Linked DNA regions of Homo sapiens: regions 2, 3, 4 and 5 are each linked to region 1. The links are contacts of gene promoters, found by promoter capture Hi-C in blood cells and fetal thymus (Javierre and others, 2016). All regions are on one chromosome and are shown on one strand. Each heading gives the region's core, a stretch centred on a gene start or on the middle of the fragment in contact. The rest is flanking DNA. Distances are from core to core; before and after follow the strand shown. Region 1 holds the start of ADO (2-aminoethanethiol dioxygenase). Region 2 has its middle 64 kb from the start of ZNF365. Region 3 has its middle 170 kb from the start of ZNF365. Region 4 has its middle 62 kb from the start of NRBF2. Region 5 has its middle 14 kb from the start of NRBF2.

Region 1 (3,996 bases), core at 454-2,953:
AAAAAAAAAAATAATAATAATAATTGCTTGAGGAAGCATCTTAAATATAAATCATAGGGGCAACCCGCTGTGGTCCCCTTCCAAGCTGTGGAAGCTTTGTTATTTCGCTCTTCACGATAAACCTTGTTACCCCTCAAAACAAACAAACAAACAAACAAAAAAAAACCACACACAAAAAAATAGGCTTCACTCCAGTTCTTCTGAATCAAAATCTCTGAGGTGTGACCCCAAGATCTTTATTTTTTAAGCTCTCCAGGGGGTTCTGATGAGTAGGGTTCAGAACTTTTGTTCCCTTAACACCGGCATTCTACAAATGAATAAATTGAGGCCCTAAAAGGGTAGGATTTGCCTAACGACACACAGCTTGTAAGTACACACAGTAGGCTGGAACAACAATATCCTGACTCTCGTTTGGTGCTTTTACACCAATTCAAGCTGCTGTTTTTGGTAAGACTGTACTTATTTCTGCTCTGCTGCTCATGCTTTGCTGGGTACTTAGTATTCACTATCCTACAACTTATTCCCTCATCTGCAATCTGGGAATAATAATAGTGCCTGCCTCTTAAGAGTTGCTGCAAGGATTAAATAGTATAACATTCATTATATAATGCACTTAACACAGTGCCTGGCATATTGTGAGTACTCATTAGCCAGGTTATGTAATCCACTTTAAAAAGTATGCCTATTTTAACTGGAGAGGATTCACTGAACCACTCCAATTACAAAATGTACAAGAAACCCATGTTCAGCTTTGGAATCCAAAAAGACTTTAAACTCAGGGTTAAGTTTAAAGTCATAGTATCTAATGTCTTGCTTTTCTAGTCATTTACTTATGCCAAAAGTTAGTTCACGCCAAGGAGAAGGATGCCTCTGTGTAGTGAAACAATTTCACAATTACTGACTGAACTGACTGTTGCACACCACTATTTCTCCTAGGATGCCTCAGAACCATCTAGTAACTCCATCTCTGGGTGACGACAGGGAATCTGCATTTATAAAAGCCCGCTCCCCCTTCTCAGGCAAACCAAGATTTGATAACCACTAGTATGTTCAGAATCCACGACCACTGTAAATGGCCTCTCAAGTCTCTCCAGCAAAAAGCTATACTGCTCTGTAACCAGAAGAGCAGCGTCATCAGGTCCTGATGCAAACAACAGCTGGGCCCAGCTGGGCCCAGCTGGGCCGAGTAACCTTGATGATCACAGAGGACGGCCTGGACCCCCTCCCCTCCTAGGAAACACAAAATTATAAAAGCGCCCTCCTGCAATTCCCGTGGGAGACAGTGCTGCCTAGGCCGCTACGAGGAGCTAAGGCTGACTCAACAGCCTCCTTCCCAGGGGCAAGGCCAAAGGAAGGCGACCCTGCATGGCTAACCAGGCCCCAGCGCGGCGCCAGAAGGTTAACGACCCTCCCTGCCCCTTTCCTTATGAAGGCCAAGAGCCTCCACTACTCCGGGGGCCAGCTGACGGAAGTGCGTCACTCCACCCTGCGGGGAGTGCCGGGAGTTGTAGTCAAGTGGCTACTAATCTTCCACCCCGATTCATCTTTTCTAAAACAAGAAAAACACCTCTGCATCCTGAAAAAGATCGCTTTATGCCCAACATGTGTAATAGTTCCTCTATTTTCCAATCAACAAACTGAACTATCTCAGAGCTCAAGCGGAAGGCCGGACTACAAGTCCCGGCATGCTCCGCAGGGTCCCCGGGCGCCCGGCCACCGTCGTAGGTGCGGGCCGCATGAATGGAGCGCCGGGCGTAAGGCAAAGCCTGGCACCGTCTGCGCGGCCGCTATCTGCTCCCGGAGCGTGAGTGCGGGGTGTGGGGCGTGCGCGTGCGCGCTCAGAGGGGGCTCAAGGCGAGCGCGCCGGGCAGTTGCGGGCGCGTGGCTGCTGAGGTTGGCGGCGGTGCCGCGCGCCCGACGGGCCGGTGGTTGCGGGGCCTCCCGCCTCGACCCGGGCTGGGGGCAGCCGTGGCGGCCGCCGGGGACCGCAAGGGGCGGAGGAAAGGAGGGGGCCGGTCCCGGCACGCAGAGGAGCAGCCGACCATGCCCCGAGACAACATGGCCTCCTTGATCCAACGGATCGCCCGCCAGGCTTGCCTCACCTTCCGGGGCAGCGGGGGCGGCCGCGGCGCTTCCGATCGCGACGCGGCTTCTGGCCCGGAGGCGCCGATGCAGCCGGGCTTCCCCGAGAACCTGAGCAAGCTGAAGAGCCTCCTGACCCAGCTCCGCGCCGAGGACTTGAACATCGCCCCGCGCAAGGCCACACTGCAGCCGCTGCCGCCCAACCTGCCGCCAGTCACCTACATGCACATCTACGAGACGGACGGCTTCAGCCTGGGCGTGTTCCTGCTCAAGAGCGGCACGTCCATCCCGCTGCACGACCACCCGGGCATGCACGGCATGCTCAAGGTGCTGTACGGCACCGTGCGCATCAGCTGCATGGACAAGCTAGACGCGGGCGGCGGGCAACGGCCGCGGGCCTTGCCGCCCGAGCAGCAGTTCGAGCCGCCGCTGCAGCCCCGGGAGCGAGAAGCCGTGCGGCCGGGCGTGCTGCGTTCGCGGGCCGAGTACACCGAGGCCAGCGGCCCCTGCATCCTCACACCGCACCGGGACAACCTGCACCAGATCGACGCCGTGGAAGGGCCTGCCGCCTTCCTGGACATCCTGGCCCCGCCCTACGACCCGGACGATGGCCGGGACTGCCACTATTACCGGGTGCTGGAGCCGGTCAGGCCCAAGGAGGCCTCCAGCTCGGCCTGTGACCTGCCTCGAGAGGTGTGGCTCCTGGAGACCCCACAGGCCGATGACTTCTGGTGCGAGGGAGAACCCTATCCAGGTCCCAAGGTCTTCCCTTGAAGCCACTGGCGCCCAGGAGCGGTGGGCCGAAGACGTGCCCTACCCTACCACAAGGGCTGTGTCTCTACCCCCTAGCCTGGGCGTTGGATCTACTGGAATGAGCAGCAGCCGCTTCCTCGGCAGCCTTGGGAAGCACGGGCGACTGGACAGCAGCCGCCGGGCACGGTTATGGGGGCGGGGTGGGCGGGGAGGCTAGATTGTTTCCTGGTACTGTCACTGCCACTGGGGCTTTGATTTGGAGGAATGGGGCAGGGGACTATCTGAAGCGCTTCCATCCTAAAGCCATAATGAAAATATCTTCCTCTCTTCCCCATTCTATACAAAATACTAAGTGGTTTTCTTGCTCCCACTCCCTACCCCTTAGTTAAATAGGGTTTATTTTCCACTCATGCCCTTATGCCTTTTTTTCTTATAGTTTTTTAACTTATTGACTGTGCATGACCCAGTGGTTTGAATTGTTTTTAGTTCAAGTCATTGGTAAAAACTAGGTTTAAGGAGATGAGCTACTGTTTAAAGTGAGCTGGCCTGCCTAATTAATTCCTTGTGAAAACTAAATGATTTTTTCAGTTTGGGGATCATTCTCACAACATAACTATGCATGTAGAGGACAAGATTTATTTTCTTTCCTCCCTTTGCCCAGTAGCCACATCTGGTTTACTCAGGCAGCATCTACTAAGAAATTCAGCACCTGCATATCTCTGTGACATGGTCACTTAGAGCTTATCTTCCCTATGAATCTCCAGATCTGTGAGTCGAGCAGATTTCATGTTGCAGATTCACCTTTAATGCAAAGACTGTATTATCCTCACATGACTTTTTTTCTTGTCTTACTGTACCTTAAAAGGTGATAGAGTAATTCTGTATTTTCTAACGGGAAGATTCAAAGGAGCTGAATGTGTTATGCTTCCAAACAACTGAATGTAAAACACTCCTAGCCAGTTGTTGCATTCCCTATATTTATTTACTTCCAATATTTTACTGTAAAAGTAGGGAGAAATATTATGTTGATAGTTGTTTCATATTCTCTCAGGAACTTTAATGTTCCCGACTCGGGTGATTCCAGCTGTGTTGCTGGCAGTGTTGTCTCAACCCTCTCCCTAAAATGACTGAGCCCTGGGTTCATCTAATGTGGTTTTCCTT
Region 2 (4,337 bases), core at 694-3,193, 370 kb before region 1:
TTCCAACAGCCATATAAATTAAATAGGGTAAAAAGTTGGTTAACTGGTACTAAAGTAACTAGAACCCTTAATTAAACTAAGTGATTATTTTGGGGAAGTTAAAAGAGGGTACAGGGAATCATTCTTTATATTTAGGAGAAAAAAAAGCCACTGGCAAAAAAATAAATAACAATTGAGATTTAGTTACACAATAAAATTATAGAACATATCCAGATTTGTAATAACACATAAAAATATAATGCTAAAAAGGATAATTTTGATGCTTTACAAGACCTTAGTTGTTAATTAGGTTCATTATTTCATTAAGGCAGGAAGATTTTCACCAAGAAATTTTTATTCACTAAGAAATGAATATTTCCTGAAGCCTTTTGAATCTTGCCAGCACCCTTCATGACCAACATCATTGCACTTACTAAGTTCCTGCTTCTTGTTGAGCAGAGCCAATTAACTGAAAAAGCTAATGATGGAAGGACAACCAATTGGGATCTAGTAAGATCTAGCCCTGTAGCTGGTAACATTGTGCCAGGAATTTAATATGCCTGAGCAGGCTCATCTGTAAGATGGTTATGATAGTACTGTTTATATCATAAGTTGGTTAGGAGGGTTAAATGCCTAGCTCAATGCACCGTAAACAACGAGTGCTCCAAAAAATGTGGCTAGCACACACACACACCAAGCATTTCAAACAAGACCTATAAGCAGATGGACTTCTGACTATAAACTTTCTTATAAATTCCACATAAACTCTCTCTAGCTAAGAGGGAGAGTCAAATACCACATTTAAATGTATGTATGAGAAATGTATTCTCTGTTTCCAGTGATTTCAGAATCAGAGATCATTTTGGATGGTTTATTTTAAAGTCTTCCACAATCTATACCCATAGATACAAATATATGTGTCTGTGGGTGTTTTGGAAAATAGGATTGGGTGGAGGCAGGGAAATGTATGTGGTTGAATTCAGTTAAGCAACTGGCTGTTTTGCGACTAATGATTTGTAAGTAGCAGTTTGGCTGAATTTAACTTTTTTTGTCTTTAAAAAATGTAGTTTTCTGAAATTTATCTAAAAAAGTTGATCTATATCAAGCTTTAGGGTAACTTCGTCATGGTTTCCTTGCTTTCTGGAAATTCTACGCACGTCATAGAGTAAATGTCAAATTTTAAATAGGAAATCAATATTCTTCTCTAAGAGGCTTTGAGAATAAATAGCTATTTTAATTCTTTCTCAGGAAGGGATTTCATAAGGAATTGTAATGACGGAAGCAGACAAAGTTTAAAGCGAGTTTTTAGCAAGTTATTTACATCTCATGTTATGTTTTCCAGGCAGTTAACAAACAGCCAGATCATCAGAGTAAGGTGTAACTCATAAAGCTTTTTCCTTCTAAATTCACACATATACGTACGTGTGTGTGTGAATAGTATATGCAATTTAAAGGTTGTGAGATTGGTAGCAAATGCACTTTTCTGTAAATCTCCTGGCTTCTTTTCCTTCCTTTGACCAGAAACAAGCAGCCCTGATAATTATATTCTCTACCACTAGGGGGTGACAGCTGATAATCTATCCACATACTTTAAAGTAAGACAAACCACAGGCTTGATTATGTAGGTATTAATCTTTCTTTTATTGGTCGCCTGGTGAGATTTGGTTTGATGAGTTTTATTTGCTGAACACGCTCTACATCCAACATCATTCTTCTGTCGTGATGCATAGCATGGGCCTGTTGGAATAACAGCTGGTGCTGGACAGCTTTGTAGATTTCAAGTAACTGTGTATGGGAAATTAGTTAACAGATAGGAGCATTTATTCACTCATGCATTCATTTCATAAATATTGAGAGTCCACAGATCCTGTGACAAGGACTGAAGATACAATGGAGAACAGGAATATTATATCTGTTTTCATACAGTATTTTCTTGTTTTTGTTTTTGTTTTTTTTTTTTTGAGACAGAGTCTCACTCCATCACCCAGGCTGGAGTGCAATGGCTCTATCTCAGCTCACTGCAACCTCCGCCTCCCAGGCTCAAGCGATTCTCGTGCCTCAGCCTCCCTGGTAGCTGGGATTACAGGCGCAGCAACCATGCCAGGCTAATTTTTGTATTTTTAGTAGAGATGAGGTTTCGCCACATTGCCCAGGCTGGTCTCAAACTCCTGGCCTCAAGTGATACACCCGCGTTGGCCTCCCAAAATGCTGGGATTACAGGAATGAGCTACCATGCCCAGCCACATAGAGTTTTTATTGAAAGGGGAAAGACTACAAAAACCAGGTAAACAAACACATACATAAAGTAATTTTGAGTGTTAACAAGATAGATAAAGGAAAAAAACATGAAGGGCAGATACAGAATAACTGGCATTAAGGAAGAGATATAACATTAGATCAAGTCACTCCCTTATCTAAGGCCTTTGCTATTCTCTTATGTAAGCAGAAGATTCAGAGGCACACTGTGCCTTACTCCGGGTGCTTTCCACTTGAATAGATTCTGGCAAAATCCTCATAACTCAGCATTTCGGTGCCTTTGAAGCTTGCAATAGCTGATGAATGGTATCTAGCACCAGTATCCTTCCTCAGTATGCTTCTCACAGTACTTAGAAAGCTTTATTAAGGTAGGCATCAAGCAGAAAGAATTTGCCTGGTCTCTATTCCTTCTGCATTACAGCCTCACTAACTTGCAAGCATTTTGTCTAATTAGCTAGAGTGCTTCTTGAGAAATACACACACAAACACATTTCAAATAGAAAATAGTGCTCATTTAAGGTCATTTAGCATGGAAAATAAAATTATTCTAATGGTATGAATATCGGTAAGACTATCACCTTGCTGTTGTTGATACTACACTTATGGTTTCTGGTCAGTATAGATATTTTAATTCCATTTCCCACTTTCTTAGTTTTTCTCCCTTACTTGAAATCTCCTTCATCTTTACCAATTTAAATTCTTCTCATCTTTCAACTAATAATGGGTCTATTCTTTCTCTTCTCGGTCTCTGTCTTCCTCTCTCTCTTTACATTTTCCTCATGCCATGTGTATTCCTTCATTGTGTTTATTCCAGAAGCACTCACGTGATTGAGCAATTGATTAAATAATCTTTACTTAGAATTTTATGATTATTTCAACTCTAGCAAAAAAAAAAAAAAATGTTGACTCACTACCTAACAATGCCTCCCTTTCCCAGATTCTCTTGCAGCTAGGGATGGGATGTGTAGCTCGGTTTAGCCAATGAAGCATAGGGGAAATACACTGATATCTTCTGAGAAAGACATATTCTTTATAACAAAGATGGGAAAGCATATGTGCAAGCCCTCTAATAGCTGTGGCTCTTCCTTTGCCCTGACTTTGCATGAGGTTATAAAGGATTTAATGTCTGGATCTGCAAAATTATCTTGTGAACAAAATGGGAAACCCAAGGGACTCTTGAAGATGTCAACCCAGTGACCTTGACAATGTGGAGCTGGTAAATCAGCTCTGAAATGACCATCCTCCAGCTTCTTATATCTTCTATTACTTAATTTAATGTCTTTATTGTTTATGCCACTAATAATTTGGTGTACTGTTACTGAGAGCCAAACATATCCTAACTGACACAATCTAAATATTAAAATCCCTCAAAAATATCATCTCACTTTTAATTTTGATACTTCTTAGAACCTGGCCCAGTGCTTGAGACAGAGTGGTGGCTAAATAAACATGTGCAATCTGCATGTTTTTCCTTTGTCCTGTCCGCACTTTCTCCCGCACAAAATGGACTTCTTGAAATTAGTCTCATATGCTTATCTAAGAGACTGCTAAATTGGAATAAGGAACTTTGCCTATGGAGTCTGTTATACAAAATGCACGTATGTCAGAGGATACCTTAGGCTCATTTTGCCATGCAAATGCTAATAATTATAAGCTTTATGAATGCATAGTTTTATTTATTTATTTATTTATTTATTTATTTTTGTATCTCCTCTTCTTGTTTCTTTCTCTTTTTTTTTAAACTTTTATTTTAGGTTCGGGGGTACATGTGAAGGTTTGTTACATAGGTAAACTTGTGTTACTGGGTCACGGGATGGGGGGTTTTTTCTACATATTACTTTATCACCCAGGTATTAAGCCTAGTACCTAATAGTTATCTTTTCTGCTCCTCCCTCCTCCCAACCTCCACCCTCAAGCAGACTGCAATGTCTGTTGTTTCCTTCTTTGCATAAAAATTTACTTTTAGAGGGCAGAGGTTTTTCTTCTATCTTTATGTCTACCAGCACTGTGCCTTGTACAGAGTTTACAGACAATGGGTGAATAAGTAGGGGGAGAGAGAAGGGAAGAAAGTTAGAAGCAGCAAAATGCATTTAGCAAATTGA
Region 3 (4,404 bases), core at 1,833-4,332, 260 kb before region 1:
CCCAGTAAGGGATAACAAAATGGCAGATACTAGTATCATTATTGTTGCTCTTCATGTCTGTTATCATCATCATAATTATAATTCCTTAAATGGATATCTTTTTTTCATCTGCTCCACAGATTTGGAGCCACTCCTCCCATCAGGCCAGGTGGATACACCTAAAATCGCACTCTTAACTGCTAGAGCCAAGATGGCAATTAGGTTGCAGCTCAGTGTTCCAACTCTGATTAGTTGATATTAGCTTCCTGGAAAGCTGGGTAGACCAGATTCTTAAGGCTGTTGTGAGATTAGCAGAGCATCATGATCGATTATCACTGTCTGCCATAAGCATGGGAGGGAAAAGGGAATACTCTGCTTATTTGCCAGCCCTGGCCTAGGAGCTGTGCACCATGCCTCAGATGCTTTCTGCCCCACTGAAACAGTGCAGAAAAGTACAAACATTCTCCTTTCTGGGTACCATAATTCTACCAATCCTGATGTTAAAAGAGATTCTTATTGGTAACAGGCTATAACCCAGTTCAAGACCAGACACTGAAAAATTGATGAGTTGTCCTTGTTTTTCTCTTTTTTCAATTTTGTTCAGGGCTTCATAGCTTCCTTCTGGGCAAACTATTTGGCTAGTAGACATGATTTGAGTAACACGGTGGTCTGCTTTTCTTCAATAATGATGATAATGGCATATATTTTCAGAGCACTTAATTTATAAAATGCTCTTACATCCATTAGGATACTTTATATTCAACTGTTTGGCATGCAGAAGGCACAAAAGGAAGTGAAGGCAAACTGGTGTGGGTATTTCTCAAGTCTCGTCTCAAGCTCATTGATGATTCTAGCACATATGTTTTGTTTCCAAAGTGCTGGCGTTTCACTTCCAGGGTAATGGTATCTGCCTCTTGCTGTGATCCTTCCTCTGGTTTCTTGACTCCTTAATTAATTTTCCTTTCATTTATAATTCTTCCTCATGTAATACATGTTTGCCTGTTGTTAAAATATTGCCCTCACATTGTGCAGCATGCCCCAGTATTTCCTCAATGAGTCACTTATGGATCTCAGGGCCAATTTTGTTCCCAAGACAAAATGCCAAGGCCAAGATGAGTTCCAGTTTTGTGCTAATGATTTCAAATTCTTAAGGCTTAGAAACCCCCCCAAGTGCCACACAGATACCAAAATGATTAAATGGTGGCCTCTGTAGAAGGCAGGCTCTCCATCCTTTGCTGAACCAAAGGGCTATTTTCCCGTTCTCTTAGATAGCTTCTACTTCAGAAGTATAATCTATTCTCTCCCACTCATCCAGTCTCAAGAGAATTGGAACTATTTTGCAATAAAAGATGTGTAAGGCTGACCCTCCCTGCCTACGCTGCTCTCTGCTTAAATGGGTTGAGTCAGTATTTCCTCTTTTTCTAATTCAGCAATGGGCCAGCTGGTTTTGTCTGATAGACTAAGACCCAATTAAATGACCTTCTTTCTAACCAGGAAAACAATAGAGGTAAGCAATTATTTAATTAATGGAATCAAAGAAGACTGTGAAACATATAAATTTAGATTCTAAAACTTATTTCTTTCAGAGCAATATTTTGGGAAATTTCCATAGGAGAGTGATTTGTTTCCATTGTGAAACTTTGAATTACATAACAGAAACTATGTCTTGCTTTCCATTGATTGTATGACAACCTAGAGGGATGAAAATTATTTAGATGAGGAAATAAAAAATATTATTTGTTGTTTTTGGTTTCAAAGCCCAACAAAAATCTATTTAGGCTGCATGACCTAAATAGTCTCTTACATAATTGTTTTCACTGTGTTAGGGTTTGGTATTATATCTGCAGTTTACATTAAAAGGTCCTACAAGAAACAACCATATGAAAACTAATTTTGCATTTAATTTGGGGATATGATTTAAATACAGTTTCCACCATAACTCAGTGTCTCTCTATGATGCCCCACCCAAGACATTTCTTAAAGAACTAAGTTTCACAAGAAACAGTGCCTCTCTTGAAGAACTATCAATTTTCTCCTCAAAGACAATGACAAATAATAACTAATTGAGTATCTCTTTTATGCAGTTGTTTTGCCTGTTAGGAAGTTCAAAGAAAGATGTGTGGTTCAACTTCAGTATGAAACTCTAAATATATTCTGGAGTTAGAAATGGCTCAAGCAATACAGACCTGTAGTATCTCATTCACAAGAAGGCTGGAGACAGGTGACTATTGGCACTGGTACTGCTGCTCATTGATGTTATCAAAACACAGGCCTTTTCCTTTTATTTTTCTGCTCTTCTGTCTTTGGCTGTTGTCTTCTTGGTCCAATGGTTGGTGCCTCATGTCACCTGATTGCAGCCACAGAAGCAAACCACATATCCACATTCAGGTCAGAAAGAAAGAGAAGGGGTGGGTCAGCAAGATCTCTTCTCCCTGTCCGTAAGAAAAGAACACAAAAGCTTTTCCAGAACTGATCTGCTTATATCTCACTGGCATCTCTGGATCACATGACTGCCCAACAAACTCAGAGTTATGTTAGCCAAAAAGAGGTGGAGAGTGCGTAGAAAATTAGTAACTATAACAACATATTTTCCGTGGTTCTCTTTTTATAAGCGTTCTTAAAGTCAGTCTTGAATCTAAGGAATTGAGAAAAGTTTAAGATATGGCCCTTGCTTTCTTTCTATAAGCCTTCAGTGGGGAGGCAATTCATTAACGGAAAATTAGATAATAATGAGACGATAATAACAAGTCAGTAATACATGAGGTACATAATGCAATTCATGATGAACTACCAAACAAATGGTCTAGATAGTCAATGTTGAAGGATCTCACTATGATTTGGGATGAATAGGATGGATTTCAAAGAATAAGAAGGGTTTGATATAAATCTTACAAAGGAATAAAAGACATAACTGAATCTCTTCTTTTGTCATTAAGCCCAGAGATACATGTATTCTGATATAATTTTCGTTTGAAAACACACCATCTTCTTCAATTTAGAGTCAACCTTGGACTTTTAGAGATTTGTTGAGGATCCATGGTCCTTTGGTCACCTGAAAATCAAAAGTCAAGCGATAATGTAAAATAGCATAAAAAGAAAAAGATAGGTAGCTAATGTAAAAAACTAATGAGTAAGTGTGTCTATGGAGTACAGGAATTGGAAGACTCTAGTAGAGGGAGGAGAGCAGGAAGTTTGAACTCTGAACATATGGAGAACAATTCCAGTTGACATTTACTAGTTGTGTAATCTTGGGCAAACTCTTTAACTTCTTCAGTCTTGGATTTTCTCATATGTAAAATGAAGATGATAATTTTCCTCACATTGATTTGTGGAGATTATATAAACTAATACTGTAGATAGTGCTGTGTAAACTTAATATTAAGGTACAAAGTATTATTTAAAAGTGATACTCATTTCAGTGATAATCTTCTTTATATAGATTTGATTACTATCACCGCATCAAAATGCCCATCCGATAACTAGGTTCTCCATTGATTTCACATCTAGTGTTGGGGACCAAAGCTAACAAGTCCACTTAGGCCAGGGTTAGTAACATACCTTGGTCTCTGACACCACAGGCAAGGATCAGGTGTTCTGGTTCTCCCAGGGGTTAGCTCCCTCCCCTCTAGGGTCAGTCAGCTTAGAGAAATTCTCAGCTCTCAGGATCAGTGGGGATAATTCCGGGTCTGCACATAATACTGGTTCAACTAGAAGTCATGCCCATGTTAAAAGTGGGTTGTTAATGGAGCAAGCTTTTACCTTTACATTTTGAAAAAACTTGACATCACATCAGTAAAAATGGAATGAACCTCTGAAGAAAGGTTATGGGATAAGAACAGCATACTGGTGTTCAACAGTAGTTCAATCTGTATCTACTAGATTTGTTCATGGAAAACTTAATTTTGGAAACAGTAGAGTGATGGGCACTCTGCAGCTGTCCTACCACTAGCCTCCTGAAATAATTAACAAAATGAGAAAATAACCCATTCATATATTTTAAAGAAACTCCCACATGGAGCACTAAGTACTAGACAGGTTGCAGAAATTTTCCTCTAATTCTAGTTCTGTAGATGTGCAGTAAGGGGAAGGATACACAAGCCAGTCTAAAATAGAACCCAGTGGGTCCCATCCATTCTATTTTGGGGAAATTCAGCAAAGTGCGTACTGGGCTTACAGAAGTGTTGTAATGAAAGTTATATGAAAACTTGCAGGTGCCCATTTATTGGACCCACCCTACTGGGTCCAGTAAAATAAATGTTAATTTTGCAGACAATGAGAGGTTGTAACTGAGCATATGCCTCACATAGTTGACTGGCTATTATACTCTTAGGGCACAGCGTCCAAAGAAATTCCAGACATGGTACTCACTCTCATTATTTTCTGTTGAGCTGATATTTAGCTGGAATAAAAGACTTTAAACAAATA
Region 4 (4,136 bases), core at 929-3,428, 270 kb after region 1:
AGATATCTATATATATCTATATACACGTATATAGTTTTTTTTTTTGAGACAGAGTCTCGCTCTGTCACCCAGGCTAGAGTGCAGTGGCACTGTCTTGGCTCACTGCAGCCTCTGCCTCCCAGGTTCAAGCAGTTCTCTTGCCCCAGCTTCCTGAGTAGCTGGGACTACAGGTGCACGCCACCATGCCCAGCTAATTTTTGTATTTTTTGTAGAGACGGGGTTTCACTGTGTTGGCCAGGCTGGTCTTGAACTCCTGACCTCAGGTAATCTGCCTGCCTCTGCCTCCCAAAGAGTGGGATTACAGGCATGAGCCACCGTGCCTGGCCAAGTTGTTGTTATATTTTAAATAGAACTTAAAACCTAATACTGACTTTTCAGTCTTGCCAAGAGGGAAAGAAACAGGAACTATCATTTGCTGGTGACAGGTACTCACAGACAGACACACTGCTTCTGTAGAAGGCAGGTCAAATAGCAGCAGGCTCACCCTAGGGCTTGAAATGAAGTCCTAATTGAGCACACAGCACCCTGAAGCAATCTTCAAATCTCCATCACACCACACTCTTTTTGTCCAGGTTAATTAGATAGAGGCAGTAAAGCATGAGGCATTTATGTGCATTATCTTATCTAATCTCACAACAAAGTCACAAAGTGGGCATCTGTATGCCGGTGTCACATATGAAAAAACACATAACTGGTGAGTGGAAATACAAACTGTCAGCTTCCAGATGTTGTGTTTTTCTTACTGAGACTTCCAGTGCTCATCCATACCCCTTTCTCCTCATTTTCCTGAACTCCCTGAGGAAAACATACCCCAGCCACTCTTGCTGCCAGGCAGGAACATGTAACCCACGTAGGTCATCTGGGTCTCGGGCAGCAAAAAGCCCCGTGAGACTCTCCAGGTGCTCTTCCTTGGCTCGGGCAACTCTGGCAGCCATGTGCCGAGGTGGTGGGATTGGATATCTGAGTCACCTTGGGAACGGAAGATACCTCAGAGAACCCACTCAACCCACAGCAGGCTTTGTGTGAGTGAGAAGAAAACTGTTGCATGTTTAGCCACAGGGGCTTCAAGCATTCATGTTACTTCAGGATTGCTTATCCTGGTCTGCCTAATACACTTCTGTAGACTCAGAAAATGGTTGGTTAGGATTGGTGCCATGAGCTGAAGTATTTGTCCATGTAATAATCAAAAATGCTTTTTACCGGCTGGGCATGATGGCTCACACATGTAATCCCAGAACTTTGGGAGGCTGAGGCGGGTGGATCACTTGAGGTCAGGAGTTTGAGACAAGCCTGGCCAATACCGTGAAACCCCGTTTCTACCAAAAATACAAAACATTAGCTGGGCGTGGTGGCAAGCGCCTGTAATTCCAGCTACTTGGGAGACTGAGGTGAGAGAATCGCTTGAACCCAGGAGGCAGAGGTTGCAGTGAGCCAAGACTGCACCATTGCACTCCAGTCTGGGCATCAGAATGAGACTCCATTTCAAAAAAAAAAAATGCTTTTTACCTGAGCCTCATCACTCAAGTCCATGTTCATATTTTACAATCATCTAGCATCCTAATTACCAAACTTCTCCCCACCTCCTCCTTCTCCTCCTCTCTTTCCTTCTTCTTTTTCATAAGATGAATGAGATATTGAGTCTCATGTTAGAACAACCTAAATCAACTGGTTTTACCCTTCTCACATTGACATGGGATAGTGTTCTTGACCAAGCATGTCATGTCCTCCAAAGGCCAACCTTACTGTAGTTTTCCTAAAATGGGGTACTCAAATAAATTTTAGGTACTTCACAAATGATTTTGTAGTAGTTACATATTTATCTGAAAGTGTATTAGAAAAATATGCATAAGTATATAACATATGTATGTGATTCCATGCTTATTGCTGCTTACAACAATGCTAAAGGAGATATTTGTGTTTTTAAAGTAGATGTACGTTTTTAGAAAGTAAAAAACAGCAGGGCAGCCTGTGCACTGGTACAGCAAAAATCCTGGACCCAAAAAAAAGCCCTGAGCCAGGGTGAGAACCCTCTAAGCAGAGTCAGTGCTGGTCATGCCAGGTGATCAGCTCTCCCTCCTCCCCTCTAGCCTTTGGAGAGTATGATAAAAGGAACACCCTCTTGTCTGTGTTTCCTCCCACCACAGGGGCAGGTAGGCAAATCCTCCCTGCCCAGGCTTTTCCTCCTAGCACCAAACAGCTGTCCATGAAAGCCCACAGATCACTAGACAGAGCTATGAAAGCGTCTAAGAGCTAAATTCGATATCCGTCTTTTCTTAGTAGAGCTCAAGATCTCATTATCAAGAGTGGAGCTGATTGTTCAGCTGATCCCATAAGAGACCCTGCTGCTTTCTGCTGGCAGGGGCAGGAGGTGCAGGGGTGGAACCCTGGGCTAAGGCTGAGTCTCTATTGCTCAAACATTGCTGTAATGTTTAGCCTGGGTCCCTGCCAGGTTCTCAGGATGGGGGCAAGTCGTCCAACTGGTCGCAGTCTGAGCACCTGGGTTCTCTGGCAAAAGGTGGTATAAAAATGCAGAGATAGGCTGGGCGCAGTGGCTCACGCCTATAATCCCAGCACTTCGGGAGGCTGAGGCGGGTGAATCACGTGGTCAGGAGTTTGAAACCAGCCTGGCCGATGTGGCGAAACCCTGTCTGTACTAAAACTACAAAAAAAAATTAACCAGGTGTGGTGGTGCATGCCTATAATCCCAGCTACTCGGGAGGCTGAGGCAGGAGAATCACTTGAACCTGGGATGCGGAGGTTGCAGTGAGCCCAGATTATGCCACTGCACTCCAGCATGGGTGACAGTGAGACTCTGTCGCAAAAAAAAAAAAAAAGAAAAGAAAAGAAAAGAAAAAGAAAAAGAAAAAAATGCAGAGATAGGTAGATTGATCCCGCCTCCCATATGTTTAGGCGTTTAGCACAAACTGAAATACATGAATGGTTTGCCCTAGTCAGAACTCCAAAGGCTGCTTTAACATTAGCATCACTGCCTCTGTGCTATACTATATTTAGATAAAGGTGCCATCTTGCTTTCTGCATGATTCTCCCCTTCCTTCTGCCTTTAGTTTGACCCAGGGGAATTCACAACACATTCTGGGTTCTTATCTTCTGTAGAACGAGTTGCAGTTTCCTCGCCACCATGAGCATGTTGCCTCCCCCCTCAGCCCTTAGTAATTTGTCAAGTGACACGGCTGAGTCTTGGCTCTGTCTCCCTTCCTCTGGTCTTCCAATAACAATCCATAACTATTCTCTTCCATGGACCTAAATCAAACAGAATTCAGACCCAAAATGGAAAAGGAGAAACAGGGTCATGGGAATAGGACATTGATTTCCTCCCATTGGACACCAGCCTGGTCCAGAGCCAATCACCTGGGCCCCCAGGATGTGGTGAAGGGGAGGAGAGGAAGCTGTTCTCCCCAACCTAGCTGGTTTGGCCCACTGAATTTCTGCCATCATTCATAAAAGTCATCTGTAGGCCAGAGGAGTCCCTCTGGAATAAGAAGGGGGAAAAAAAAAAAAAGCAAGGGAAGCAGCCAAAACTAGAGATGTTTTGTTTGTTTGTTTGTTAAGACAGGATCCCACTCTGTGGCCCAGCCTAGAGTGCAGTGGCACTATCATAGCTCACCGCAACCATGAACTCCTGGGCTCAAGCAATCCTCCCACCTCAGCCTCCTGAGTAGCTGGAACTGCAGGCACAAGCCACTACATCCAGCTAATTTTTTTGTATTTTTTTTTTTTGCAGAGTCGGAGTCTCACTATGTTGCCCAGGCTGGTCTCAAACTCTTGGCCTCAAGCCATCCTCCTGCCTTGGCCTTCCAAAGTCCTGGAATTATATGTGTGAGCCACCCCACCCAGCCTAGAGAAGATTTTCCAAAGGAAATTTTCCCAAAACGGAAAAGGATAGACTGTTAATCTGTTACTCCACTTGGGAGCCTGGAGCGATTGTGAAAGGAGCTATGTAAGCAAGGACATTTTCAATTTGTAGGTGAGTTGGGTATTGAGGTGGAGAATATGTGGCCCAAAGTGGGAAAACAGGAGTAAGATAAAGAGCGGGAGAGAAAACTGTTGGAAAACCCCCTGGAATTGGTGCGACTTCTGAGCTAGCTTTGAGCCTGCTGGGGCAGCATGAATTTCTG
Region 5 (4,057 bases), core at 1,551-4,050, 320 kb after region 1:
TGGGAGACAGAGCAAGACTCCGTCTCAAAAAAAAAAAAAAAGATACTCCCCCAAGTCCAGATCCCTATGGTAGCTTCCTGCTCTAGTTCTTCTTTAACAGGCTCAGTTTCAAAGATTACCATCTACCTCACTGTTCTCATATCCCGATACAATGATCTCTAGCCCCTGGCTACCCTCTGCTGTCTCCAGAGAGCCCCCAGGTTGCTGCCCTCTATTGTCTTAGACATCATGTCCCTCTCTCTACCAGGTAGTGGGGCCACAGTTCTGTCTTGTAGTAGTGTTGGCTTTGCAGTAGCTTAAGAAAGAGCCTATCCTGCTGGATATCTTACTTGCAGAATCTGAACTAGTTTGTAGAGCAGCTTCCCAATTCCAATGGTGAAATGTCCTAGAATCTTTTATGGTGGGATGGTGCCTGAAGCTCTTGTGAGTGGAGAAGCTGTTGCTGGTGCCTCCTGGGCTGCTTCTGCCCTTGTTCTTTTTGTAATTTATTTATTTACTTTTTAGAGACAGTTTCTGGCTCTGTCACCCAGGCTGGAGTGCAGTGGCCCAATTATAGCTCACCGCACCCTCAAACTCCCGGGTTCAAGCAGTCTTCCCATCTTGGCCTCCCAAAATGCTGGAATTGCAGGTGTGAGCCACCATGCTTAGCCCTTTTTAAAATTTCTAATGGTCTCATGGCTAACGACTGGCAGGAAGATAATTTTCAGATTTACTTATCTTCATTTGTCTTGCTGCTATCTTCACATAACCTCCTGTAATGGAGGATTCTCTAATTTAGAGTTCTATGTTCTGTACCTTCCCCTTGCTTCCTATCTTTCCATCTGGACCTCAGCACTGACCTGGGAAACTCTCTCTCATCCCATTCATTTATGCAGCCTTTATTCTGTTATTATTATTATTTTCAGATCCAGACCTACAGATGCAGCCTTTACTCTATAAGATTGAAAGGAGAGATCTCCCTACTGGCCCTTTTGCTGTTTTCACAACACTCCTGCTAGTGATCTCTACTACTGTAGTCACCACACTCGTTCTGCCTTCTGGGGATCCCTTGGCAGCCCCTGGCCACATGCTAGACATGCTCTCCAAGGATATGCATGAAGCACCCGCACAGCTAATTTAACACCCACTGAGGACGCGCTGGTGGTCCTGCTGTGACCATCCTGGCTCCTTTTCCTCCTGGGCCCTTGCTGGCTGCCCCTGACATTGCTGTGCTATCTGTTCTGGACATGTGGACTTGGATGCAGCCAAGCGCCCAGCACTACTCTGGGGCCTGCTGCTGCCCCTGCTACTCCCAACCCTGCTGTTGTCCCTGTTACTGTCTCTGTGGCAGGCCTTGTAGGTTTTGTGACTACAGAAGAATGCTCTTGGGTGGCTTCACTGGGCAGTCTGCAAACATCATATGTGTGGCAGGTGCACTGGACTCCCTCTCCTACTGCATAATGGAGGTTCATCTTTTTCTCCTGCTCAGCAGAGAAGCTCAGAAAGCAGAAAGTGGGACCAGGACAGTCTGCTCCACTCTCTCCCCATAAATGAGCAAACCAAGGACTTATAACCGGACAGGCTTTTGAGGTAACCAATCCAAGCTTCCACCTGATGCAGGAATCCCTCTCTCTAGCAGGCCTGTCAAATGGTCTGGCTAGTTTTGTTTGAACTATTCCAAAATTAGGGAGGGTACTATTATGGCACCCCAATGAACATCCTCACATACCTTTATTTTCTACCTCTGTGCTAGTATTTCTGTAGAGAAGGTTTCTACAATGGGGATTGCTGAGTCAAGGATATGCACATTTTGCATTTTGATACAGGGAACAGATTGTGCCTGGTTGCACACACATATGTTATAGTGATTTATAAGAAAAAAAAATTCAGAGCATAGCAGTCATGGGAAGACAGATTACAATTCACACAAATGAAAGACTTTCTAATAGTAAAAAAAAAAATCCAATATCAAATATACAAATGTTAGAATTTTAAAATATATCCTACCACAGATTGGTCTGCCTTGATTTGAGTAGTTCAAGGAGAGACTGGATTATCATGATGGTAAAGAGATAATTATAATAATTACAATATTGAGTATGAGATTAGAGCAGCTAATATCCAAGGAATGTCTGAAATTAAGCCTTGTGGCACATTCTGGAGAAGCATCAAGAACCTGTCCAATGTGGCAAATACCTCAATACTGGCCCATTTAGGCTTGGGCTCTTTGACATGAAATGCATTTTCCTGGGGAGCCTTGAAGAGCACCAAAGGCTTTGCAGGACCAGCTTTTAGATGCTCTCTCAAAGCACCCAGGCCCCATTTTTTCTGAGTTGCAGAAGCCTTACTGCTTGGCTCTTCTTGTCTCTCATTTAATAATAGGCATTTCCATTGTGTCTCTAGTTGGGATTGCCTAGGGATTAGTGCAACTCTCCACTGGTGGTCTCAGAAAATAAATGGCTTTTTCTGATAACTAAAGAAGTCTTCCATGTATCCGAAGGGATACAAAAATGCAAAACAAAGAACACCCTGTAGCAAGTTCAGGCGTAGCTACTGTTTCCCAAATATCAAGGGAAGAAAGCTGGATAGGTTTTATTTGTTTGTTTGTTTGTTTGTTTGTTTTTTCCAAGACAGAGTCTTGCTCTGTGGCCAGGCTGAAGTGCAGTGGCACAATCTCGGCTCACTGCAACCTCCGCCTCCCAAGTTCAAGCGATTCTCCTGCCTCAGCCTCCCGAGTAGCTGGGATTACAGAAGGGTGCCACCACACCCAGCTAATATTTATATTCTTAGTAGAGATGGGATTTCACTGTGTTGGCCAGGCTGCTCTCGAACTCCTGACCTCGTGATCCACCTGCTTCGGCCTCCCAAAGTGCTGGGATTACAGGCGTGAGCCACCGTTCCTGGCCAAAACCCGGATAGTTTTAAAGTCTTTGTAGGTGCTATGGATTGAATGTGTCCCCCAAAAAGCAAATATTGGAAACTTAATCCCCAATGCAACAGTGTTAATAGGTGGCACCTTTGAGAGGCGATTAGGCCATAATGGCTCCACCCTTATGAATGGACTTAGGCCAGTTATAAAAGGTCTTGAGGCTGCAAGTTTGATCTCTTGCTTTCTTGCATGCATGCTCTCTTGCCCTTCTACCTTCCCCCATGGGATGCTGTAGCAATGTTTTAGGACCAACAGCTTGCATGCCAGATGTGCAGTAACAGACTGAGACAGCAGAGTTTGCAGCAGACAAAGAGTTTAATGATCACAGTGCACAGGGCCAGCAGATGGGAGGAGGCCCTCAAATTAATCTCCCCAAGGACTTCTGGGCTGGGGTTTTTAAGTGAATCATGGGGGATGAGGGGCTGGAAAATGGAAGTCATTAGTTGTGGTAAAAGGAATGAAATAATCAGGACATGGCAACTGCATTATTTGGTGAGTCAGCTTCTTGTTGGGTCCTTCAGACCAGCTGGTGTCAGTAGTTTCACTGGTATGCAGGACTTGACAGATTATCTCAAAGAGGAAAACTTAATGTTTTATAATGTTCAAGTTGTTATCTATAGAGCAGGGGTCCCCAACCCCCCATGCCACAAACTGGTAATTGTCCACGGCCTGTTAGGAACCAGGCCGCACAGCAGGAGGTGAACAGTGGGCAAGCAAGAATTACCACCTGAACTCCGCCTCCTGTCAGATCAGTGGCAGCATTAGATTCTCATAGGAGCACAAACCCTGTAGTGAACTGCACATGATCTAGGTTGCTGAGGGGTCTAGGTTGCTGGCTCCTTATCTAATGAGAATCTAATGCCTGATGATCTGAGATGGGGCAGTTTCATCCCAAAACCACCCCGCAACCCTCGTCTGTGGAAAAATTGTCTTCCACTAAACCAGTCTCTGATGTCAAAAAGGTTGGGAACTGCTGCTACAGAGCATTTAAGGGGATCTATAATCTTGTAACAGGGTCTATGTGATTCTGAGGCAATAGGCAGCAAATAACTATGAGGCAGCAGGTTAGGGAGAGCAAGCTGATCTTATAATTCATGCTGAATGTGCTGCAAGCTTGGTTTATTTTTGTTTTTCCCCTTTCCTTCTTCC

Evidence for each region. The method cuts DNA at HindIII sites, captures the fragments that hold promoters and counts their contacts. A CHiCAGO score of 5 or more calls a contact.
Region 2: a contact is called between a fragment that was not itself captured here and the fragment with the promoter of ADO in region 1, in 7 of 17 cell types (M2 macrophages, M1 macrophages, total B cells and 4 more). The highest score is 14.2, in M2 macrophages.
Region 3: a contact is called between a fragment that was not itself captured here and the fragment with the promoter of ADO in region 1, in 3 of 17 cell types (M2 macrophages, M1 macrophages and M0 macrophages). The highest score is 7.7, in M2 macrophages.
Region 4: a contact is called between a fragment that was not itself captured here and the fragment with the promoter of ADO in region 1, in 2 of 17 cell types (M2 macrophages and neutrophils). The highest score is 5.5, in M2 macrophages.
Region 5: a contact is called between a fragment that was not itself captured here and the fragment with the promoter of ADO in region 1, in 1 of 17 cell types (neutrophils). The highest score is 5.3, in neutrophils.

Annotation. Positions count from the first base shown.
Region 1 is chr10:62,803,017-62,807,012 of GRCh38, forward strand. It overlaps ADO (2-aminoethanethiol dioxygenase), which reads left to right and starts at 1,704. Exons shown (of 1, transcript NM_032804.6): 1 at 1,704-3,996. The coding sequence starts at 2,044. The coding sequence ends at 2,856. RefSeq lists enhancers at 1,459-1,718, 2,189-2,308 and a silencer at 1,759-2,008. The HindIII fragment of the contact is 5,397 bases long and covers 93-3,996 here.
Region 2 is chr10:62,436,267-62,440,603 of GRCh38, forward strand. It overlaps a transcript of ZNF365 not described here. Among named protein-coding and RNA genes, the nearest start is that of ZNF365, 64 kb to the left of the region's middle. The HindIII fragment of the contact is 1,152 bases long and covers 1,368-2,519 here.
Region 3 is chr10:62,544,530-62,548,933 of GRCh38, forward strand. No RefSeq gene overlaps it. Among named protein-coding and RNA genes, the nearest start is that of ZNF365, 170 kb to the left of the region's middle. The HindIII fragment of the contact is 1,294 bases long and covers 2,436-3,729 here.
Region 4 is chr10:63,068,895-63,073,030 of GRCh38, forward strand. No RefSeq gene overlaps it. Among named protein-coding and RNA genes, the nearest start is that of NRBF2, 62 kb to the right of the region's middle. RefSeq lists an enhancer at 135-304 and a cis regulatory region at 220. The HindIII fragment of the contact is 6,797 bases long and covers 1-4,136 here.
Region 5 is chr10:63,117,433-63,121,489 of GRCh38, forward strand. No RefSeq gene overlaps it. Among named protein-coding and RNA genes, the nearest start is that of NRBF2, 14 kb to the right of the region's middle. The HindIII fragment of the contact is 2,438 bases long and covers 1,582-4,019 here.